Linked DNA regions of Homo sapiens: region 2 is linked to region 1. The links are contacts of gene promoters, found by promoter capture Hi-C in blood cells and fetal thymus (Javierre and others, 2016). All regions are on one chromosome and are shown on one strand. Each heading gives the region's core, a stretch centred on a gene start or on the middle of the fragment in contact. The rest is flanking DNA. Distances are from core to core; before and after follow the strand shown. Region 1 holds the start of MIR124-2HG (MIR124-2 host gene). Region 2 has its middle 180 kb from the start of LINC01289.

Region 1 (6,375 bases), core at 807-3,306:
GTCGTCACCCCACAGAGCAGATTCTGCTGCTAACCAGAGCAGAGAGCCGCACCTTCCCAGCGGCGGGCCCCAGTGCGCACAGCGTGACTTTGCCTCCCCCAGGCTCAGCAAGTCGTTGACGATCTTTAGCAGTCCCGCATCCCAGGTCAATAAACTGGAAACGGATAGAATGAGAATCATGGATGAGAGATAAAGGGCAGCGGGGTGATGCGCATTTCTTGTAGTGCCTCCAAAAAACCGTGGTCTCTCGCCGCTAATAAAACACCCTTGTGGTGAGGCCTTTGGTCTGGTCTCAACTGCAGAGATGTTTTGTCTTAGGTAATTCGAGCCCCCAAATCCAGCACCTTGGGATTATATTATACACACACTTATATTCTTTCTGTATTTTTTAAAATTCTTCTTTCATTTTTGGTTTGCTGCTTTTTGCAAACGACCCGGTTGGAGATATTGTTGGATATTTCAAGCAGATGTCAGGTGGGTGTTGGCGGCCTGTGAGTCCTCCTGCAGTAGCAGCAGCAGCCAAGTACGGTTTGATAAATGCTCAAGGTGAAATGTGGCCTTACTCAAAACCCCAGGGTGATTTAGGGTAGAAGAGCGAATATTCAGAGGCGGGAAGTGGTGAGTTATATTGTTACATTCCCTTTCGATGGAACTAAATGCGGTTATCTGCGGTCCTAACCTCTCTCGCATCGGAGTGCAATGTTTCTGAACAAGCTCTGTTAGAACTGGAAAATGGGAGGGGGTGAGGGAGCCCACTGACGACTTAACGGAATCTTACTGAAGAAAATACAAAGATAACCGAGATATTCATGATATTACATCTCATGATCTTCCAGACAAGCGTCTCTCCGGAACAAGAAAATATTCCCAAATTTCTCCCTAGCAGTGGCCTTGGGTGGAGTGAGGGAGGAGGTGGGTGGTGAGTGTAGAGAAGAGAAGGTCTCTCTCTGTTGTCACCCTCAGCCCCCTTCATTGAGGAGGAACAATGGCCAGGCCTGGAGTTCTTCCTGAAAGAGAAACTGCAGGAAGGCAGAGTTGCTCTTTGTACCCCAGCCCCTTTAGAGGAGGGGGAGTCATACACAGGATCCCCCTGACCACTGGGCGGTGTCCGGGAGATCAGAACCCCTCAGATACTCTGGGAGCTAAAAAGGCGCCGCCCTGTCCTCCCAGAAGTCCCACGCAGTCGCTGGAAGAAACCCAAGCAAAACCCAGCGACCTCAAAATTCGCCAGGGGGATAAGCGGGGAGAGGAAAACCACTCACTCTCACATGCCCTGTCAGTCCCCCCACGCCACCATCCCAATGTCTGATCAGGCTTGATTCTGCTGACGTGTGTATTTCAGATTAAGGATGTATTTATTTATTTATTTATTTATTTAATCCTTCAGATCTTCCCACCCCATAAAAGAGACTTAATTCCTTTCCAGGGCGACGGGTTGATAAAAGGCTCCATTTTAAAGCAATGGGGGAATCATATGACTGTGACCTTGACATGTGAAAGGGGGGAGGGGCAGGTAGTTTGGGGCCCAGACCTTAGGCCTCTGCAATTCTGGGGCGTTCTAGGCCCTTGATAAGAACATCAACAAGAGGGATTTATTTTCAAAGGTTACCATTAGCAGTTCATTCACTAAAGTTGAGAATTCGGTATTTTTATATTACGTGAAATACATGATTTAATTATACTCCAAAAACAAATTAAGGACAGGCCTTCTACACAAATTGGAGGCAGCTAAATGCTCTTTTGTGCCTGCAGCCCTCGGGTTGTTAAAGAGGCTGCTGATGCATGAGAAGTAAGTGACTGATTTAACTCATTGGGATGCAGGAAGCGACCTGCCCTCTTTTGAAAAAAAGCGAGAGAGAGAGAGAGAGAGAAAGAGAGAGAGAGACTTCGAGCTTGAGAGAGGGAGGGGAGAGGAGAGGAGGGAGAAGGAAATGACAGAGAGAGAGAGAGAAAGGAGAGAGAGAACGCAGAGGGAGGGAGGCAGGGAGGGAGACCAAACCCCCGCTTTACTGCGTTGAAAGCTTCTGAATTTCAAGCAGAAAGTAGAAGGAGCTCCAAAGGCAGTGAGCGTCTTTCCTTGGGCTGCGTGTGCCGAGCGTAGACAATGAAAATCTTCATCCCCCTCCCCCATTCTACTAGGCTACAAGATTCTTGTTTTCGTTCCTTCTCACCGGTGGAAGATGTGTAAAATCAAAGATGTAGAGGTGTGTAGTGATTTTTTTAAAAGCCAACTAACCACCGCACGGACTGCGACGCGGATTACCCGAGCGCACGCCGGCTGTAAGTACCATCCTTTCCTGCGGTAGCCGGGCTCTGCGTCCCCGGCTGGGCTGGGAGTGTTCGCTTTGTGAATCGGGTTGTTGCTTGTGTTTTGGTGTTTTGGTTCACAGGGGCTTCTTCGAAGCTTACACTTTTCGCACGTGAGCGGGAGAAGCGTTTCGCCGGTTGTGGGCGTGCAGAACACGATCCTGGTTGACTTTGATGCGGTGACTTGGGGTGGCGGGCGGGGGGCGGCGGGAGGCGCGGAGTCGAGGAGTTCCCGCGTCGCGAGCATGCTTGAGAGCCGCCGGCTCAGCTCCGGGCTGTAAGGTTGGTTCCTGGCAATGGATGGAAATCAGGTCACAGAGATCCCTAAGCTTGCCAGGCTCTCAGACACGCTTGGGAGACAGAATGGAATTGGAAGGAGGGATCTGAAGAGGAGGGAGGGGATCCGTGTTCCCCCACCCCGGGCCTAGAATGGAGCCCCGGCCAGCCGCGGGCCGGGCCCCTTGGTTTTCAGGACTTATTCTTGCCGGGGTTGGCTCGCACGCCAGCATCGCGCCTTCGGTGCGTCTTTTATCTCCATCTCAAATATGGGATCTTCTTGGGACGAGGACTGAATGAGGGTGGGAGAGAGGGTGTGTCTCACGGCGCCCAGGAGGGAGAAATTGTGGTTCTGAGAAGGTATTTTTTGGCCTCTTGAAAATGTGCAAGAATTCCGCGGGCCCAGGCTTTCTTTGTGTGGCGGGCAGCGCCAAGCGCTTTGTGCTTCACAAGGAGAAAATGGCGAGTCCTATTGTGTTTAGGCCATTTTCTTCCGGTACTAGGATTTTCCCAAGTTCGAAATACTTCTTGAGAAAGTAGCCTTCTCGTGCCCAAGAAAGTGTGAATCGCTGAGGCTCGGCCCCATGGCCTGGCGTGGGTGCTGACCTCAGTTTAAAACCAAGGGCCTGTTTTCTTACCGTTGGGGTACTTGTATCAAAGCACAGATATGACCGGTTTGTGCGGATCGGTGTCCTCCAAAGATCAACAGCGGCTCTTGGGGTTTGGAAAAATAAGTGTCTATTTATATATGCATATATACATATATATAAAAAACATATTTTTCCTGACAATGTGAAGGAGAAAATAAAAAACGAAGGACAATTACGTTTTTGAAAGAGGGAATATTTCTTTCCCTTTCTCCTTTCTCACGCTCGAGGAAACCCCAGGAGATGTTAAATGTTACTCTGCCGGGTCAGTCTCTTATTTTTTAAACTGAAGATGAAATGCTATTTTGGCTAGAAGAATTATTCCGCATCTTAGCCACTGGAACATATGCTTTGCTACAAAAAAAGTGTAAGGTGTTAGAGATGGATTTAGTTTAATGCTCTTAGCGTGTGTGTGTGTGTGTGTGTGTGTGCTATCTATATGCCTCTATATAGTGATGTAAATATGGAGAGAGAGATGATTGAAAAGGTTGTTTAGCTTTTGCCCCTGAATTTGTCATTTTTGTAATTTTTCTGCACTTGTTAAACCATATGTAAAAGTGGACAAGGATTCCTGTACAACAATGTCTATGTCTCTTTTGAAAACCGCCAAAAAAGTATTGCAGGTTGAAAGATATTATTTCCTGTTTACTACAATTATTTGGATCTTTAAATGGAGTGGTGGTTTTGTGAGCTCAAAAATAATGAAATGCAAACTATCTGCTTCCTGTACATTCAATTTGGTGGCAAATATAGAAAAATGAGAACAACTGGGATGAGGAAGAGAACCTAAAGCCTATAGCATTTCCCCCTTTTGCTATCATTTTAAATGCTAGGGAGTCTAATTTGTGCAGAAGCATTGTGACTTTCATTTTTCAAAAGGTAACACTAGCATGTCCTTTCATGTGGATCAAGACCATGGACAGCGAACTAATATTAAATCACTGAGCAAAAAAGGACTCTAATAAAATTTTGAGACCTGAGTGAAAGTTTACATTCAAAGCATGTTAGAAGTCAAAAATAATCTTTATGGTCTTTAAAAGGAATTAGACTGGTAAAATGTGGCATTTCAAACTTATTCTACCAAGTTTCAAAGAAACAATGATTATGTGTTCAGTTTTTACCCTGCCTCAAATAGTATATATTACTTATCCAATTAAAATAAGATAAAGCCCACCTTTTGGTACTGGTAAATATAAAATTTAAAACTATCAGTTTTAGATGTAGAACGTTTTTTATAAGGCCTTGAAACAGAATGGGGATGGAGAAATTTTACTATTTTAGACTGGCATTGGCTGAATGACACTACAGAAAATTAAATTGATTTTTATCAGTGAATGAATTTCTAAATGCATAAAATTGGGAAAATTAAATGCCACTTTGATAGACAGGAATAATATGAATGGAGATATAATCCGGCTATTCCTTCTACTCCCGTGTAGGCATTGTACTCTATAACTGACAGTGCAATGTTGTGAGCAAGCATTTATTTTTTTTCCAAGAAAGTCACAGATTTTTTCATATATACTGATTAGATTTGGGACACAGGATTGGTTCAGTGTGGGTCTGTGCTGGAGATCAGCTTATTTTGTTTTATACATTGTTTGAATAGTCTTTACTCCTTTACAGAATTAAAATTCATTTAAAACCATTTCATTTGTGGATTACATAACTTATTCAAAATTGCTCATTTAAATTTCCAGTTTGATGTGTCTTTTAGCTTATTTCATAACCTGACTTTAGTGTGACCTGTAAAGGCCTGGAAAATCATATAAAGCAAAAACAATATGCAGGTTAGAAGAATTAAAATAGTTCATAATTAAAATTAAGTTAAAATTACATCATTTAAAAGGACCTTGGAGTTTATAAATAAATTAATTTTTGATCTTTATTCATCAGATTTGGCTATAAAATGAAACTGCAGTTCTTTGAATGTGCAGGTTGCTGGAATTAGATGCTACATATATTTTGAACACACATACTTATTTTAATATTTTAGTTTTAGACAACGTATTCAAAGTACTTGAGAAGAATATGCAATGACATTTTTTCCGTGTCCTAATCAGGACCATGGTGAGGTCCCCGTGGTTCACCGAGTGGTGGTCCAGGGCTCTGGTTGGGACGCTGAGTTAGGTTGGCAAAGCGTCATTGTTTTGAAAGGCACATTCGTCCGGAATGGCATTCGTGATAAGATTAAACATAAACCTAAACCTTGGCCTCGGGGGAAGGCAGGCTGCGGGGTTGAGAAGAGGAGATGCAGATTAGCTCTGCTTTTGCTGCTTGCGCACATAATTAAGAGGCGGTCCCTCAGCTGGAGCGTGGGCTGTGTCCGGCCTAAGGTGCTTATTTTCCTGTTACTTGGCCAACCGAGTGTGAGTGAACAGGAGCCCGAGAGCTTAAATGTGGGATCTAGATAAGGTGTCGACTGGGTTGTGGGCGTTTGTCTCCATGTTAGGGAGAGGCAACTGAGAACGGTGACTTTGGCTTGTTTTGAGAGAGCCTGGGTTTTGACAGCAGGACGGCGAAGGGAGCGCTTGGAGAGGCTGGAAGCTCGACGTCTTAGGGAGCTGCCTGCGGGCACTGGGTTGACGCCAAGAGGTTGTCGGCAAGGGCAGGGCTCTTGCCCTCTGCTGTACCTAGGCTCTGCAACTGGGGGCTGCGAGCCTTCTGCGGCTCTTTGGTTTCAAGGACACAGCGAGCTGCTCAGGACTTTGGGAGCCAACATCTGTCTGACTGGTGACGTCAGCAGCCCGTGTAATCCTCTTGTGCTGAAGGCAGATGCCTTATTTGTTTGGCTGGAGCGAGCCATTAATCCCTAATTCTGGATCAGCAAGCGAGGGGGAAAGACCGGACCGCTCCGACCCACCCCCTCCCTACCCCCACCTCCCACCTTAAAGCACCTTATACCACGGAAGGCTCTCAGCCTCTTCTTTCCTCTGCGAACGCGCTGAGCAGCGATTGAAAACGTTTTGGTCCTCTGCAGGTTTGAACAGGGCTAGCAGGTCTCTCTCCGGATTTCTAGGGCTATGGGTATATGTAATTCTTTCTCTCATCGATCGTTTCGATTCTCTTGCCGGTCTTGCAGTTTGCAGGGTCCTAAACGAAGAGGGGTGGAGATTCGAGAGTGCGGGTCTGGCGTGTGGTCCAA
Region 2 (7,305 bases), core at 4,632-7,131, 780 kb before region 1:
AGATTCCCTCCTCTTAAATTCATGGGAAGAGTTTGAAAATCACTGATATTCATTCTTCTTTAAATATTTGGTAGAATTCAACAGTAAAGCAATCTGTCCCTGGGCTTTTCTTCATTGACAGATATTTAATTACTGATTCAATTTCCTTACTTATTATTAATTTGCTCAGATTTCCTATTTCTTCATAATTCAGTCCTGGTAGGTTATATGTTTCTAGAAATTTATCCATTTTTTTCTAGGTTGTCCAATTTGTTTGCACATAATTGTCCTTAGTATCTTATGATTCTCTGTATTTCTGGGCATCAGTTGTAATGCCTCTTCCTTCATGTCTGATCTTTTGAGTCTTCTCTCTTTTTACTCAGTTTTAGCTAGAGATTTGTCAGTTTTCCTTACCTTTTCAAAGACACAAACTCTTGGATTCATTGAGCTTTTCTATTGTTTTTCTCATCGCTATTTTATTTATTTCTACACTGTTCTTTGTTATTTCCTGTCTGTTCACTTTGGGTCTAGCTTGTTCTTTTTATCTACTTCTTTGAGGTATAAATTTAAATTGCTTATTTGATATTTGTCTTTTTTTCTTCATGTATTCATTTATTGCTATAAGCTTTCCTTTTAGAAATGCTTTCGAGGTTTTTGGTTTATTTGTTTGTTTGTTTGTTTTTCTGAGGTGGAGTCTCACTCTGTCGCCCAGGCTGGAGTGCGGTGGCGCGATATAGGCTCACTGCAAGCTCAGCCTCCCAGGTTCACGCCACTCTCCTGCCTCAGCCTCCCGAGTAGCCGGGACTATAGGTGCCCGCCACCACTCACGGCTAATTTTTTTGTATTTTTAGTAGAGACGGGGTTTCACTGTGTTAGCCAGGATGGACTTGATCTCCTGACCTCGTGATCCGCCCACCTTGGCCTCCCAAAATGCTGGGATTACAGGTGTGAGCCACTGTGCCTGGCCATGAGTTTTGATATGTTGTGCTTCCATTTTCATTTGTCTTAAGATATTTTTAAATTTGCCTTTGATTTACTATTTGACCCATTGGTTGCAGAGGAACATGTTCCTTCCTACATATATGTTAGTTTTTCATTTTTTTTCCTGTTACTGATTTCTAATTTCATATCATTGTGGTAAGAAAATATATTTGATATGATTTCAATCTTCTTAAGTTTATTAAGACTTATTTTGTGGCCTAACATATTGTATTCTGGAGAATGTTTCTTATGTGCTTTAGAAAAATGTGTATTCTTCTGCTGATGGATGGAATATTCTGTATAGGTCTTTTGGTCCATTTTCTCTAAAGTGTAGTTTAAGCCCAATGTTTTCCTATTGATTTTCTATTTGGAATTACCTATCCATTGTTGAAGGCAGGGTGTTGAAATCCCCTACTATTATTGTTTTGCTGTTAATTTCTTCCTTCAGATATCTTAATACCTCCTTTATATAACTAGGTGTTTCAATGTTGATGGCATATATATTTACAAATGTTAGATCCTCTTCATAAGTTGACCCCTTTATAATGACCTTCTTTATCTCTTAACAGCTTTGGAATTAAAGGCTATTTTTTTCTGATAGAAATATAACTATCCCTGCTCTCAACTGGTTTCTACTTGCATGGAATATCTTTTCCAATCCCTTCACTTTCAGCCTGTGTGTGTCCTTAAAGCTAAAGTAAGTCTCTCATAGGAAGCACAGAGTTGGGTCTTGGTTTTCTATCCATTCAGCTACTCTCTGTCTCTTGATTGGAAAATTTAGTTCATTTATATTTAAAGTAATTATTGATAGATAATGACTTACTATTACATTTTGTTAATTGTTTTCTGTTTTATAGTTCCCTTCTTCCCCTGTTGCTATTTTCCTTTGTGATTTGATTATTTTCTATAGTGGAATGCTTTGATTCCTTTCTCTTTATCTTTGGTGTATCTACTGTAGGATTTTGCTTTGTTGTTACTGTGGGGCTTACATAAAACATCTTGTATATATAGCAGTCAAATTTAAACTGATAGCAACTTAACTTCAACTGCATACAAAAATTACGTTTTTACTTCTTCTCTACTCCACATTTTAGTTTTTACTGTCATAATTCATTTTAAAATGTGCATCCATTAACAATTTATTTAGTTATGGTTATTTTCAATACTTTTAAACTTTATGAGTTAAAAGTGATTTAAATACCACTATTACAGTATTAAAATGTTCTGAATTTGACTAAATACCATATCACTGAATTTTATACTTTCATGTATTTTCATGTTACTAATTTGCATCTTTTCATTTTAGCTTGAAGAACTTGAATTTCTTGTAAGGCAAGTCTAGTGGTGACAAACTTCCTCAGCTTTTGTTTGTCTTGGAAAATTTTTATCTTTCCTTCATTTCTGAAGAACAGCTATGCTGAATAAACTATTCTTAGTTGGAAAATTTTTCTTTCAGCAGTTTGAATATGCCATCCTACCTTCTCTTGGCCTGCAAGGTTTTTGCTGACAAATCTGCTAATAGTCTAATGAAGCTTCTTTTCTATGTGAAAAGTCTTTCTCCTGCTTCTTTCAAAATTATCTGTCTTTGATTTTCAACAATTTGATTACTTTATGTCTAAATAAAATTTTTTTTGCATTGAATCTGTCTGGGAGTCTTACAGCCTCATATATTTGGATATCCATATATCTCCCAAGGTTAGGAAGTTTGAAGCCATTTTTTATTTAATTAAACTTTCTGTCCCTCTCTTTTTGTATTCTTCCCTGGAACCTCCATACTGCTTATTGTATTTACCTCCATGATGTCCTATAAATTCTGTAAGCTTTCTTTATTCCTTATCATTATTTTTTCTCCTCTGACTGAATAGTTTCAAGTAATCTATCTTTGAGTTCATAGATTGCATTCTCCTTGATGAAATCTGAAACTTCTTATTGCATTTTTCATTTCATTACGTTTTTTTCAGCTCCAGAATTTCTGTTTTATTTAAATGATTTCTATCTTTGTTTAACTTCTAATTTTGTTCATGTATTATTTTTCTGATTTTGTTGAATTGTCTATTTTTGTTCTCTTGTAGCTCACTGAACTTCCTTAAAACAATTAATTTGAATTCACTGTCAAGCAATTCATAGATCTCCATTTCTGTTGGGTCAGTTACTGGAAAATTATTGTTTTCCTTTGGTGGTGTCATGGAAACATGTTTCCTTGATTTTTAATGTTTTTTGAAGTCTTACATTGCTGTCTTTAGATTTGGAGAAGCAATAACCTTCAATTTTCACTGACTGATTTGGGGAAAGAACTACCTTCACCTGTCAGCCAGACTAGAGATTCCGAGGCCCTCTCAGACCTTTTCTATGGATATACCCACTCCACACTTCTTGTTTCCTCTTGGAGGAGAACTCTTTAGATTCTCTCAATCCTACAAGGCCTAGCTGGATGATCAGTCTCCTGTTTGTTTTCCCTGGTGGGATGGAGTTGGGGGTGACCTGACATGCTCAAGTTTGTGTGCCTTCTAATTCTGTGGAGTTGAGCTTGAGGACCACAGGTGCTTGTGAGCCACCTGCAAATGCTCACACTTGATATCTGGGGGGCACATGAAGGGAGCTAGTCATATAGGAGAGATGGAAGGGGAGATATATGAAGCATTGGAGTCACCTGTGTGTCAGTTGATAGGAGAGTCTGTAGGTGAGGAATTTCAAGCCCCTTGCAGAGAGTCCTCTTGCTTGAGTCTGTCAAGCATTTAGTAGGATACACAGACTTTTGTTGAGTTTTGAGACCTAATTGCTGTGAGTCCTTGCCTCTGTTTTCTGCTCTCAGCTTCTCCTAGCCATTCAGCTGTGTTAACACCCTTAGTCCTATTGGTAGGACCAGAAAGAGGTAGGCTTCTTTGGCAGCATCTTGCATGGCTGGGGAAGGCAGGACTCACTGCACTCACTTTCCTCTGTGGAAGGACTCGTGGGCCAAGGACTTGAGGGTCTTTCTTGGCATTGAACTATGTCCCCTTGGGGTGGGGTAATGAGTAAAATGAAACTGTTTTTCTTATCCACTTCAATATGTGTGTTTTGTTATTTTTTGCTCCAATGGTGTGCTTGTACTTCTCCACTGGACTTCTGCCTATCAATGTAAGTGCACTGTGGGGAGATGATGGTAGAAAATGATTCCACCATTTTCTGATGTCAACCTTGAACTATTATATTTTAAAAATATCACCTTGTACTACATAGGATGGCAAGGGTGGAAGCGGAGAGATGATTGAAGACTGTAATAATGGAAGAAAGAAATGATGGAGTCAGGGTGGTAGCAGTGGACAGGGTTAAATTATGCATATATTTTGAGAGTAAAACTGACAGAATTTGCTATGGATTGAATGTGGAGTGGGAAGCAAGAGTGTTTTTAAGAATGACTCCAAAATCTTGGGCCTGAGCAACTGGAAAAAGGGAGTTGCCATTTAGAGATATGGCAAAGATGATGACAGGGACAACTTTGGTGATGTGGGTGGAAGAAAATTGGGAGCTTAATTTTATTATCCCTCTTTCTATTAGAGATCCAATAGGACATATAGAATAGATAGTTGGATAAAGGAGTTTGTTGTTCAGGGAAGAAGTCCGGGATGGAGATATAAACTTCAGAATCTTCAAAATGTAAGTGAAATGTGAAATTGGAAATTACAAGACTAGATGAAATCATCTATTAAGTGATTAAAGCCAGAGAAGAGGAGAGGTCTAAGGACTGAGCCTGAGCCTGAGTATGTCAACATTTAGACGCTGAGGTGATAGAAAAGGAGTGCCTATGCAGTAAAATGAGAACCACAGAAGTGGCATCCCAGCAGTCCAGTGAAGGGTAAATTTCAAGTAGGAGGGGTGATAAGCTGCGTCAAATGCAGCTGATAGGGCAAGGAACAAAATTGAGTTCAGTGTTGACACTCCTAGGAATTGTTTTGTAAATGAGTACCAACTACATCATAAATACTGGAGGCATTATAATATAATTTGCATAGCATTTCATTTCCACATTCCATTCTCATTTTCTATCCATCAACCTAAAACAAGTAAGTGGTCATTGGGCAGGTTCTTTTAAGCAGGCATCTCATTTTAGACACCAGGAAAATAACTACTTATTTTCTTCTAAAGAGCTCCAGGAATGAACTCTTCACACTCTCTGCCAGCCATTTTTGTGTTTTATCAACTTGAAGTTGAATACATTTATCTTTATGTTTAACTGAACTCTATCTTTAGGCTCATTTCTTCCTGTCAGGTCCTCTGCCAATATGGAGAGCAACCAATCACCATCACCTTCATAAAAATGCCCTCTGTGTACTTGAAACTGGTAATCAGATCACCTCTTAACCTGCTCTTCTGTAGGATAAACAATACTGCTGCCTTTCATCTTCACTTAAAGGCCCTACTTTTACCTCTTCATGCGTATGAAGATGGCATATTAAGTAAGTATGGTCTTCTGTGGGCCTTCTTTCCCCTGAGTCCCACAGATGTAACGTTTTATAATATTTATAATTCACAACCATATATTTACTTATAAGAAGCAAAAGAATGAATTTCTTCTAACTTAGATTATTTGATCTGATCTTAGTGTGCGTACTCCAAGAGTGCACATTTGTGTGGTCTGTGTGTTTGTGTGTGTCTGTGTATTGTGCATCTCTGTGTGTGTGTGTCTGTGTCTGTGTGTAAGCTGACAGAGAGCAAGAGCACCTGACTCACAATTTAGCTCAAAGAAAATCACTTTACCTCTGGTGGTTGCTTGCCAGCCAGCATGGTCATTCAGCTGCTTTCATTTATTAGCAAGATTCCATATTTCAGTATATCTGTGTGCCCTTGAAATGTCTGAAGCATTTGTCTTGCTTCTAAAATAGATAATAAGCTGGGTCTTTATCCAAGGAGCTTGGCTTCCTATCACGCTATTCACTTTTGTCCTGCCTCCAAAATATCCTATATCCATCCTTCAAGTTTTAATTTTTGGGCTATTGGAAATAATGACAAGTAAGCAGAAAAGCAACCTCAGAAGGAAAGGATTCAAGATCATAGAGTACAGATGGCAGGTGCTTCAGAAAGCAAATGGTCCTTAGAAGGGATATTGCAGCCTTATGGCTGAACAGGGGTCCCTAATGCACCAAGCATTTGTTGATTGTAGAGGGTATTTTAGTTAGCTGAAATTTTACACATTTTACATCTTGTGACATGAGTAATATCTCATGCATTTAATTCCATTTTAGCCACTCACCTTGGCTAAACAACTAATATGTCAATCAGCATCTAGGGTTTATAAACTGCTTGATTTTAATTTTTTTATATGTAAAATAGAGTATTCTGTAACCGTGAGCTGGAAATGCACTTTGATATACATTAAAACAAAAGAAGCTCTGTACAATGGGATGCTTTATTTGTGGGAATATCCACAGTGGAGAGGAAACCAAGGCACTTTACTAAGAAGATTTATAATTGTTTGGCTGCATCCAGATTCCCTAATTGTATCTGTGTCTGCAATCACTGATGTGCTGATCCAATTCAATATTCTGAAGCCTTGATTTTCTCGAAGGTTAAAGCTAAAAATAAAAGCAACACTGCTTTGTAATTTCTATTGATCCTGAGTTTATAATATCTTTGGCACTGGGGGGGATCATTGCTTATCCTGACGACCACAGTTTGCTTTTAGTCTTAGCTACTGATGCTATTAAATGGGCAGGTGAAATGTTCTCTGGAATGTTTTCTCTTCCAAGTGTTTCACACTTTACACAGAATATGTTAAAATAATAGGCCTTCATGCCATAAACCCACAAATGTGAGAGGGAGAAAATCCAGCTCCTCTATGCTATCTCACCCCTGCTGACTGCAGAGGTCTCTGAACAGTAGGGAGGCATAAATAAAATTTATCACTAGAGAAGTCTTCCAAAAGACTAGAAAGGTGAAAGAAAGTGTGTTTCTCTAGTAGATGGTATTTTCCATAGGGTAGGATGAGGCTTCCAGACCTTAAAATAACCACATTTATTCCTTGTGGAGCTTGGAGCTGGAAAACAGCAAAGCATGCAGTGGTGCACAAATGTGCACTGAAATTTTTAAAATGTTCACTGACCTTTTGGGAGCCTTCATGCTGTTTAAGAATCTGCTGACCTACCGGCAATTACTGCACATAAATGCCTAGCTTCTGCTGGGAATTCAACTTTCAGCTTTTGCTTGCTGCTTTTCTCCTTTCCTCCTTTCTCCAAGCAACCATGTTCTGCAGCAAGACCCTGATTGCCTCAGACCACAGGGAAAGCGTGGGGCCAGCCTCTCTGCCTGGGCTGGCTCTATACTGCTGTTTGCTTGCAAACATTCAGTTATCAGGAAATGTGGAGTCAG

What was found. Contacts are between HindIII fragments. The CHiCAGO score rates a contact against its expected background, and 5 or more counts as called.
Region 2: a fragment that was not itself captured here is called in contact with the fragment with the promoter of MIR124-2HG in region 1 in 1 of 17 cell types (M1 macrophages); the score reaches 7.6 in M1 macrophages.

Annotation. Positions count from the first base shown.
Region 1 is chr8:64,371,272-64,377,646 of GRCh38, forward strand. MIR124-2HG (MIR124-2 host gene) reads left to right here and starts at 2,057. Exons shown (of 3, transcript NR_109792.1): 1 at 2,057-2,280. RefSeq lists enhancers at 1-385, 1,535-2,075, 5,295-5,872. The HindIII fragment of the contact is 383 bases long and covers 2,020-2,402 here.
Region 2 is chr8:63,590,406-63,597,710 of GRCh38, forward strand. No RefSeq gene overlaps it. Among named protein-coding and RNA genes, the nearest start is that of LINC01289, 180 kb to the right of the region's middle. The HindIII fragment of the contact is 6,207 bases long and covers 2,779-7,305 here.